3 separate regions of the Homo sapiens genome follow, and regions 2 and 3 are each linked to region 1. The links are contacts of gene promoters, found by promoter capture Hi-C in blood cells and fetal thymus (Javierre and others, 2016). All regions are on one chromosome and are shown on one strand. Each heading gives the region's core, a stretch centred on a gene start or on the middle of the fragment in contact. The rest is flanking DNA. Distances are from core to core; before and after follow the strand shown.

Evidence for each region. Contacts are between HindIII fragments. The CHiCAGO score rates a contact against its expected background, and 5 or more counts as called.
Region 2: a fragment that was not itself captured here is called in contact with the fragment with the promoter of LCE1F in region 1 in 1 of 17 cell types (M2 macrophages); the score reaches 6.7 in M2 macrophages.
Region 3: the fragment with the promoter of LCE2C here is called in contact with the fragment with the promoter of LCE1F in region 1 in 17 of 17 cell types (non-activated CD4 T cells, fetal thymus, neutrophils and 14 more); the score reaches 17.7 in non-activated CD4 T cells.

Annotation. Positions count from the first base shown.
Region 1 is chr1:152,773,385-152,777,022 of GRCh38, forward strand. LCE1F (late cornified envelope 1F) reads left to right here and starts at 1,756. Exons shown (of 2, transcript NM_178354.3): 1 at 1,756-1,806; 2 at 2,966-3,638. The coding sequence starts at 2,988. The coding sequence ends at 3,344. The HindIII fragment of the contact is 9,364 bases long and covers 1-3,638 here.
Region 2 is chr1:152,649,095-152,652,732 of GRCh38, forward strand. No RefSeq gene overlaps it. Among named protein-coding and RNA genes, the nearest start is that of LINC00302, 4.6 kb to the right of the region's middle. The HindIII fragment of the contact is 4,084 bases long and covers 1-3,581 here.
Region 3 is chr1:152,673,680-152,677,317 of GRCh38, forward strand. It overlaps LCE2C (late cornified envelope 2C), which reads left to right and starts at 1,600. Exons shown (of 2, transcript NM_178429.5): 1 at 1,600-1,649; 2 at 2,316-2,890. The coding sequence starts at 2,337. The coding sequence ends at 2,669. The HindIII fragment of the contact is 8,836 bases long and covers 1-3,638 here.

The DNA of each region.
Region 1 (3,638 bases), core at 506-3,005:
AGCATTATTTCTGAGGGTTCTGTTCTGTTCCATTGTTCTATATCTCTGTTTTGGTACCAGTACCATGCTGTTTTGGTTGCTGTAGCCTTGTAGTATAGTTTGAAGTCAGGTAGCGTGATGCCTCCAGCTTTGTTCTTTTGGCTTAGGATTGACTTGGCAATGAGGGCTCTTTTTTGGTTCCATATGAACTTTAAAGTAGTTTTCTCCAATTCTGTGAAGAAAGTCATTGGTAGCTTGATGGGGATGGCGTTGAATCTATAAATTACCTTGGGCAGTATGGCCATTTTCACGATATTGATTCTTCCTACCCATGAGCATGGAATGTTCTTCCATTTGTTTGTATCCTCTTTTATTTCCTTGGGCAGTGGTTTGTAGTTCTCTTCCTGAAACTCTAAATACATGGGTGCTAGAATGTTTGATATTATTCCACTGGTCACTGATCATCTGTTCATTTTTTTAATATTTTTCCCTTTCTTCAGTTCAGTTTGAACAATTTCTTCAAGTTCACCGATCTGTTCTTCTGCAACTTATAATCTGCTAAAACCATCCAATAATTCTTTGATGTTATATGTAATTTTGACCATATTTATTTTTCAAATATTGGTTTTTTATTGTTAGATTTTGCATTTGGTTAGTTTTGAGCATGGGAAACTGGGAAATTAAACCCAGGAAATGTGTATTGCAACAAAGCCAATAATTTCAAATTAAATATTGACTATGTCTATTCTTGTCTATACCAACTACACCACTCCAAGTCACAGTTCAAAGCCACCTCATTGGCTGTTCTCTTCTCTTCACCCTTCTCATCTTTATTTTACCTCATCCCTTCAGCTTTTCCTCAGGAAACTGCAAATTCTTTTATGCTATAATTTGGGGCAATATACATCCTTTAGTCCTCTTTTCTTATACCCACTCTGGATCTACCTTCAGAAAGCCCTATTCACTGAGGTACGTAGGAGGAAAAAAAAATGGCCTTTAGTTTTAATAAGAGCCACCTAACTTAAAAGGCACCTGTGACTTTAAAAATTCCCAATGTCCATTAAAATCTCAGGTTTGCCTCTATTTTTCTTTCTATCTATCTATCTATCTATCTATCTATCTATCTATCTACCTATTCATCCATTTCCTAATTATAACCACATGCCACATACTATCTCAGCTACTTCCCCTTTGTTATCTTAATTAATTTGTAAATCCTGCAGAAAAGATATTTCTCTTATTATCTTCATTTAAAACATCAGAAAGCCAATGGCCAAAAATATTGAATACTTTGCCAGGGTCTCCAAGGCCTCTTTTCTCGACTTCTATGATGCACACACATGCCCATGTGCACATGGACAAACCCCATAATGCAGGCATGTGGATTTTTAACCAAGCTATATGGACCCAAAGGTCTAGATGGAAAATTAGTATCTAGAATAGAAGGAAAAATGAGTTGTTTGTGCAGAATTCATAAGTGTGACTACAAGACTGTGAAGAGAGCCATCTTCATAGGAAATAGGCCACGGAGGACTCCAGGAACCATGATGTCCATTTTCACCCACCACAAGCCCCCATTTCCACCAAGCTCTTTCCTAGCTGACAGCAGCTCCCCTGAACACCAATGAAGGACGGTATATGCAGAACTGCCAGTCACCACTCGTCACAAGACCTATGTGGGTGTCGGGAGGCAGGTCCTCTCATGCCCAGGCTCTGTCTCACCGCTGGAGGCAGCACCCAAGGACAGAATAAAAGGGCTCAGGGCCAGAGCATCCCATCCACTCACCTCCTGCGGTGCTGAAGAACCCTGTGCTGCCTGTGATCCTGGTAAGTGTGCCCTGGAAAAAGGAGCAGGGGCTTCCACAGAGGGATGCCCAGGCCAGGGAAGGAGGGGATGGATACTCAGACCAGGGCAGGAGTAGAGTCTAGGCAGGGCCTCAGGGGCCTGGAATTGTGATTGGCAAGGAATGGGGTGGGGGCAGAAAATTGGAAAGAGGAGGTAGAGGGGTGGGGTGGAGTGAGAGAGATTAAGAAGAACTGGTAAGATCTGAAGGGCTGTATGACACAGATTTAGAGGAACCAAATTGTTTTCAGTTGCTCAGTGTGTTTCTCTGGTTTTAGAGAATAAACACATTGGCCACTGGATGTTGCTAGAGTGGGCTGCATAGTGGGAATATAATTTTGGAAATACAGACATACTCACTTTTAGAAAAGATATGCTGAGAACACTGCTACTTAGAGGAAGAAAGGATCAAAGACACCTGTGGATCTTGTTAGATGCCAACAAGAAGATCTGTAGTGGAAAACTGAGTGCACACTGGAGTTTAAAAGCCATGTGACAGTGCCTGGGGACAGGCCTGGGGAGGCAGGATGTGCTAAAGGGCAGAGCCCAGGATGGGAACCAGGGGACCCCGGAACAAATGTGACTGTTAATGAATAACTTTGGGCCAGTGAAGTTACCTCTTTTGGCTTCAGTTTCTTTATTTATATATTGAGTTGGTTGGAACAAATTGACTCCAACATCCTTTGCGGTTATAGTTTTCTCTATTTCTGCAAACTGAAATATATCAGTTCTTCCAATAGAAATTTATTTTGATTTTTCCTTAAAGAGATTTTCATCTCTAAACTGGTCTCAACATTGAACATTTTCAGAATTCTTGGTGATGTGATAGAATGAATGCTGGCCCGGAGCCAATTTATTTCCTGGACTTCTCTCCCACACTTAGGAGCTTTTAATGAGCAGAAACTTTATTTACATATTTGGAGATTATATATTGCATGACAACATCTCAAATAAGGTTTGAAATGAGAATCCATGAATGAAAGCACTTGGTAAACATTGAGAGTGATAAAAACATTAGAGGTGATTTTCCTATGTTTGATATAAGGCTTTCAAAATGAAGGATCTAGAAATAATGCAGAAAGGACAAGAATAGGCAGGGGTGTCCTCTGCCTCCATCTAACTTGCTGTCTGACCCTCCTTCAGCTCCTGAACACCCGCCACCGAGATGTCTTGCCAGCAGAGCCAGCAGCAGTGCCAGCCCCCTCCCAAGTGCACTCCCAAGTGCCCTCCCAAGTGCCCCACACCGAAGTGCCCCCCAAAGTGTCCCCCTAAGTGCCCTCCTGTCTCTTCCTGCTGCAGCGTCAGCTCCGGAGGCTGCTGTGGCTCCAGCTCTGGGGGCTGCTGCAGCTCTGGGGGTGGTGGCTGCTGCAGCTCTGGGGGAGGCGGCTGTTGCCTGAGCCACCACAGACGGCGTAGGTCCCACCGCCACAGACCCCAGAGCTCTGACTGCTGCAGCCAGCCCTCAGCGGGCTCCAGCTGCTGCGGAGGGGGCAGTGGCCAGCACTCTGGAGGCTGCTGCTGAAGTGGACCCTGTGCCTAAAAGAGCAGATTTAGAGGCATGAAAGGGGCAACTTCATCTTCCTTGGGACTGACTGTGTTGCTGGGACATTTTAGTAAAGATTTCAAACTCTGTCCTGGAAGATTCCTCCGACCTAGAATCCAGAAATCTGCCCTCTCACAAGAATTCCTCTTCTGACCTCTGATTCCATCTGTGCGCCTGGCCTGGGAATACCAAATAGAAGTCCTTGCCTCATTCCCCTGATTTCCTTGGCAATCTCCATTGTGCATGAAACAATAAAACAAATAATCTGCTCAT
Region 2 (3,638 bases), core at 290-2,789, 120 kb before region 1:
GAGGGGGAAGGAGAAGTATCGAGGTAAAGTCCTCACCTGATGAGCTGGTTTCCTGATGCTTGGACTATAAAGTGGGGCCTTGACCTCACTGGGGGCTTGACAGAGACACTGGAGCCTTTCCCTCGTAATTATTTCCAGTCAGAATCTCTAATACTCCCCAGCAGAATATGAATTCACAGGCCTAAATGATAAAAACATAAAGTCACAAGCATTTAAAAAGATTCCACTAACATCAGAGGTATTAGAAATAATTCACCATTGTTTAAAATGAATACATAAGATTCTTTGATGTTCTATGAAGTAAATTCTTAATTCATCAGCACTTTTTGCCCCTGACCAATACTTTTTTAAAAAAAGTATTATAAATATACTGAATATGAAAAGAAGTTGAATCAAAAGACAAGAAAAAAGAAATTGAATCAAAATACAAAACTCCTTATGAGATATCCAAGGAATAATAAATACAACTAAATGTACAGTAAGGGACACACAAGTTAGAAAATATAAAAGAATAACAACAACAAAAACCCCTAAAGGATAAGACAGAAGGTAATGAATATAGAAGACAGACAATGGAGATCTAACTTACATATAATTTGTATACCTGAAGAAGGAAAGAAAGACAATGAATTAGAATAAATACTTCACATTATAATTCAGAGACTTTTATCTATGTATGGAGTAAAATTCTCTTTCTTCCACTCAATGCAACTATAAAACCTGGGAAGACTGACAGGAACTAGCTAGTTGGGAGCTAGAAATAGCAGCAGACAGATAGGGGAAGGACATGAGAATTAAAAAAGTAGAACTGAAAAGGTGCATAGCTTCACTTTTCCTCCTTTGGTTTCTCCTGGCCTGAACTTAATGCAGGTGGAAACCTGGAAATGAGAGCTGTGGGGGCACATACAGAGTTTTTGAAGAAGTCAGCTAGTTCTGGCTTGAGGAGCAAAAGGGTAAGCCCATAGAAGATGTGGAAGTCCCCCATTTCAATCTCCTTGTTCTTTCATACCCCATATCTCAGGCAACTCCATGGTGGATGGCAGTGACAACAGCTGATAAGGGAGCTAGCAGGAGTATAAAATGTGAGAAGAGGAACTACTTCTCCATTTCATGGAGCTGTAATCCCAAAAGGGTGGGGCCAACCCCTATTGCTTTCTTTCTCTCACTGTCTTCCCAATTCTTGGTCCTAGACATGGGCCTAGTCATATAAATGTGTGGAGAGAAGGGTAACTAGAGGCTCAATTTCTGGCAAGAAGACCATGAAGGTGAGCCTCGCTGAACCTGAAAGTACTGAGGAGATTGCAGAGAGAGAGACAGAAGCTCAGGAAAGAGACCCCATAAAATTGTTTATGAATTCCAGAGTTTGCTGTGAGGACACACGTGCAAGGCTCTGATCCTCATTAGCAGACAAAAAAGTGATAACTTATTAATAGAGGTTCTACTTCCCAGATCTCAGGCTGATGCTGGTTGGCACTCACTCTGGACAGTTATGAACAGCACTACAAAAACCTCAAAAACTTAATTGATAATTGGAATAGTTTTACATGGAAGGTTGCCCATTAAAATGAAAACATCAACATTTTCCATCAAATTTAAACAAGATCCAGAGTCTTGTTTAGAATGTTAAAAATATCCAGCATACAAACAATTACTTTACAAAAGAAGAACCACGAAAATGTCACTCGCATAGGAAGAAACAATAAACAGAAACCAATGCTCAGATAACACAAATATTGAAATTATCTGGCAAAGACTTTAAAGCAGCTATTATATGAATGCTCAAATGAGCAATTATAAACACTATTGAAATAATGTTAAAATAAAAAGTCTCAGCAAAGATAATAATATAAAGAAGAACCAAATAGAAATGTTAACACTAAAAAATGCAATAATTAAATTTTCAAAAAGCCACTGGATAAATTTAATAGCAGAAGGAGATGACAAAGAAAGAGTCAGTAGACTTGAAAATGGATCAGGAGAAATAATCTAATCTAAACAACAGAGAGAAAAACAAACAAGAAATTAGCAGAGCATCAGGGATCTGTGAGACAATAACAAAATCTATCATTTATGTCATTGAAATCCCAGAAAGACAGAAGAATGAGTGTAGAACTGAAAAAAATGTGTGAAGAAATAATAGTTGAAACTTTTCAAGTTTAGTAAAAGAAATAAACATACAGTTTCAAGAATCAGAGTGAACCCAAAACTCATGAAATCACCAAGAGTGATCCCAAGCTAAGCTCAAAAAACCCTGATAACATCAGCTGAAAACTAAAGACACAGGAGTAATCTTGAAAACAGCCAGAAAAAATGATGCATCACTAAAACAGGAGCAAAGATTCAAATCATTGCAGATTTCTTATCAGAAATCACAGAGGCCAGAAGAAAGTAGCTTATCATTTTTAAAGTACTGAAGGAAAACAACAAAAATGACAATTGTCAACCAGATATTTACATGCAGCAAATAATTTTCTGTCTTTCAACAATGAAGGTGATATAGAGACATTCTCAGATGGGAGAAAACTAAGGGAATTTAGAACCTGCCCACCTGGACATCCCTAGTACTTCCAGCTCTCTGCATGTATGGGCAAAGTGGCTCCAGAACTCAAGGGCAGCCTAGATACTGATGAAGAGCTGCAGGTACTGGCTGTTGAAGGTGAGAAAACAACAGAAGGTGGGGGTTGGGGTGGGCAGTGTGCACAAGAGCAGTAAAAAGGGACAAGAGATAATCTAGGTAGTACATGCATGTTGACTGCCAAAATTTCCCCTGAAGTATGCTCTTTATATTTTAAGAATCTTAACAGAGGACTTATATTGCTCATTTCCATTCTTCATTTAGACTAACTATGCATACACATCAAAGTTCATTTGTTCACAATTAGTTTTCACTCATATACATTTTTGCTTTATTTATGGTAAAATTTTTCATATTGTGTGCCATCTCATTTTATTTCATTGTTTTCTGGGTATACACATTTATGTTTTCCTCAATTTTAAATATTTAAATTATTTTTTCACTCAGATAACATAATATATATTTGCTTTTATTTTTTCTGAATAAAGATATACGCTTTTCTTCTCCTTTCAAGTCTTCAATAAATCTAGAATTTGCCTGAAGTATTTGGTGATGCCTCCCCTCCCTTGGTTTCCCATGGTAGAGATAGATTGCATTGTTGCCAGTATTCATGCCCTTATGCATTGTGACTTTGCAGTTCCCCTCACTGAGGAGCAAAATATATTTCCTAATCCCTTGACCTCGAGTTTGGCCTTCTGGCTTTCTTTGGTCAATAGAATAACGGAGCAGTGATGGTATCCCATGCCCACAAGGAAAACATGTCCAAGATAGCCTACAGGACCCAAAAGGAGGAATGAAAGACCCGTGGAGCAGAGCTGAACCACCCAGCTGAGCCCAGCCTAGGTCACATTTGACCTCCATCACCCTGAAGACCTGCACTCTCACAAGCTAAATAAATAATTGTTCTATGCATTTTGTTTATTACGTTGTCGTTGTGCACTATAATTGAGGCCATAGTTAACAGATATATTCCTGAACTCTAATCTTAGTCTCATCAACCATAAAAAGCTTTGCAGCGTTCTAGAGACTTCCCACTTAGGTTTTAGCTTATTGTCCTACATAT
Region 3 (3,638 bases), core at 350-2,849, 100 kb before region 1:
AATTCAATGGTTTTCAGTATATTCACAGAGTTGGACAATCACCACCATAATTTTAGAACATTTTCATTACTTCACAAAGAAAACCTGTATCCATTGGCAGTAACTTCTCAATATCTCCCAGCCCGCTAAAGCACCTGGAAGCCACTGATATTTCTCAGAGGACAGGCATAAACATAAAAGGAGATACAGGGAACAGAATCTCATCCAGGCTCTTGTTCCTCGGATGCCCTGAGTCAGCTCTTCAGGGGTCCAGCCTGGGAGAGGCTGTAACTGGCTAAAGCCTCATCCCCTTTCTATTTCCAGAGATTTGCCTACTCTACACATTTCATATAAATAACATCATACAATATGCAGTCTTTTGTGACTGGCTTCTTTCACGTAGTGTAATGTTTTCAAGGTTCACACTCAATGTATCTGTTTAAACTAAATGAATAAATGACTGGGTAACTCTGTCTAGTGCAACCCTGAATCAGAACTCTGAATAACTAGATTCCTGGCTGACCCTCTACTTCCTGGTAGGAAAGGAGTTCCCTCTGCATAGGAGCCCCAAGAAATGATGTCTACTTCCCAAGACAGGTTTCAAATAATCTAAGTGTCTGGTGGAGTTAAGCTCTCTGAGGGTAAGGGCTCTATATGGGCAATTAATGACACATAAGACCGGGGCAAGTATCCAATACATGGCATTAGTTTTTCTATTAAACATATATTTATTAAGGGTCTATCAGGCACAAAATGTCATACTTAGCTCTTTCTTGCTTCTCACTTTATATTACAAACAGCTCAGTGAGATAGGTATATCTCACTGATAGGTTTATAATGGGCATTATATGTGAGAACTGATACTCACAGTGAGTATCATAGTAATACTCTAGCAATTATTGATAATTGTTACAGCAACTTTCAGAGATTACCCAGTTATCATATGCAAGTTTTCTGATTCCAGTAGCACATTCAATACAAGTCCTCTGACTGAAGGAAATGTTTAGATTTTAGAGGGAATTGTTTATTCTCAATCATTCTCCTTGCTTTAGGTGACAGAATCAACTCAGATTTAATCCACCGAATCTGCTTGCCATGGTGAGTCGGAGGAAAAGCAGAAACACAGAGGCCAGGAGGAAGGGCTGAGAGCCTAGGCAAGGGAGGGATGCCTAGAAAAAGCCAAGGCTGTAGAAGCCCTCTGGGATGGCTGGATCCACAGCAGGACATGGAAGAGAAACTGCTCAGGGTGGAGGGAGTCATAATGGAACATTTCCACAAGGTCAGGGAAAGCTGTGGCTCAGAACTGATGTTTCCTCAGAGGACATGCATTAAAAAAATGCAGGGAACAGAATCTTGTCCAGGTGTGGGTCCCTTGGGTACCCTAAGTTAACTCTTTAGGGTTCCCACCTGGTGGAGGCTCTGACTGGCTACAGCCTCTCTAGACTGCAGCCCCAGAGAGGAGTCCTGGAAGCTCCTGAGGCCTCTTTGGATTGCAGGGACTAAGAGGCAGGAGAATGTCAGGAATGACCCAGCGTGTGCCTGGTTGTGCAAGAGCCACCTCCTGCTCTTTCCAGAGCCAAGCCTGGGCCCTATAAAAGACACATCCAGCTTCAGCATCTCATCTGCTCTGACTCCCCAGGGACGTGTCTGTGCTCCTGCGTGTGACCAGGGTGAGTGGCAACCTGGGATACCAGAGGGGTATGAGCAAGGCAGAGGGATGGGGAGGATGGAGGTAGGCTGGAGAAAGAGTTGTGTGCTTGTGTTCTGCCATACTGAGCAGGAATGGGACTCAGCCTGCCTCGAATCTGTTGAGGCTCTGAGGCCTACCGGAGCTCATATAGGTGGGGAAAGCTAACTGTGCACATCTTTTCCAATTCTGTGTTCAGTGACTTCATGTTGGTAACTTCAAAACTGCTGTGTTGGGCATATTTACACCATGGAAACTGGCAAATACTTCAAGCCAGGCTCTTTTATCTGGAGGTTTCATTGCAAAATATTTTCCAGAGGACCCCTTGGTATGTCCTGCAACACCCAGCTTGTCCTTAGGGCTTGTATTAAAGGAATAGGTACTTCAGGGAGCTGTGAATACTCTATTCGGGCTTGTGAGGATAGAGCAATCGCAGTTTCCCCTGAAAGGAAGAGTAAGAAGCTCATTCTGTTGATTTTTTATCTACGTACTTTTATCTAGAGGAAAGATTCAAGTTGTTTCTTTCAGGTTACTGATGTGATTGTATTATCTAAATATCATTCTTCTTCTACACATGCATTGATTTTAGAAGAGGTATAATATGATCCTTGGTTTGAAATATTTAAAGAGTTTCATTATTATCTTTCAGGTTGACTAAACTCCTGCCAGCATGTCTTGCCAGCAAAACCAGCAGCAGTGCCAGCCCCCTCCCAAGTGTCCTCCCAAGTGTACCCCAAAATGTCCACCTAAGTGTCCCCCCAAATGCCCACCACAGTGCCCAGCTCCATGTTTCCCTGCAGTCTCTTCTTGCTGTGGTCCCAGCTCTGGGAGCTGCTGTGGTCCCAGCTCTGGGGGCTGCTGCAGCTCTGGGGCTGGTGGCTGCTCCCTGAGCCACCACAGGCCCCGTCTCTTCCACCGGCGCCGGCACCAGAGCCCCGACTGCTGTGAGAGTGAACCTTCTGGGGGCTCTGGCTGCTGCCACAGCTCTGGGGGCTGCTGCTGACCTGGGCTACAGAAGAGCTCTTGGGACTGAATGGCCAAGAACCTGCTACGGCCTGATGGATACTCTTTCCACTTCCTCTCATTCCATTCATTGGTTGGCAGAGACCACAAAGACTCATGGGGCTTTCCTGGAAGAACTTCGTGCTTGATGTAACACCCCAATTGCAAGTCTTCTTTTCCTCCTTTACCTCATGTTATAATAAAGCTCTGATCTCTGACTCACTAAATGTCTTGGTCATTCTCTTCTCTTCTGAGATTTCAAATGTCCTCCAAAGGTCAGGGCCTCAGAGTAATTTTCTTCATGAGGCTAGGACAGGACATGAGTAGGTGATACATGAAAAGCTGCTCTGAGGAACTGATTCCCCCAGATGCTGAGTGAATGGAGCTCCAAGAGGGTCACCTCTGGCTATGGTAGCTTTGCCTTTCTCTCCACTAAGCCAGACACATGTTCTAATTTTCTGTGTAATCCAGACGTTGGGAAGGTTGGGAAGCTCTGCAGACTTGTTCTTCTCTAGGGAGAAGAACACATCCCTATGAAGCAAAACTTTCCTGCCCTTAGAATCAATAGTTGGATAAAATGCTTGAAACAGATGTTGAGACCCTTCCTCCTGTAAAGTACAGCCCATGGTCACTCAGCTTCTTTTCATGAGTCTGGTTAAGATCAGCCTTTTGACTTGCTGCCTTGGACACCTGGCTTCAGTTCCTCACAGTGTTAGATCTGAGTCCCAGGATGCTGTCCTGCCACTTGGCTCACGTGCTGGGCAGGGGAGTGATGAGTGATGGAGATATTAAGTGAAAAAACATGGAAGTGTTGCTTAGAAGATACAAAGAATATAAGGAACATAAGAATACAAAGAATACAAAACGCTGTATGAAAGAATAGACCTTTCCTCCTTCAATACTTATCTTTTTTGCCAAGCCACCCTCAGAATGTGAGGGGGGAGAAGCGCCAGGATGGGTGGGGCATCTT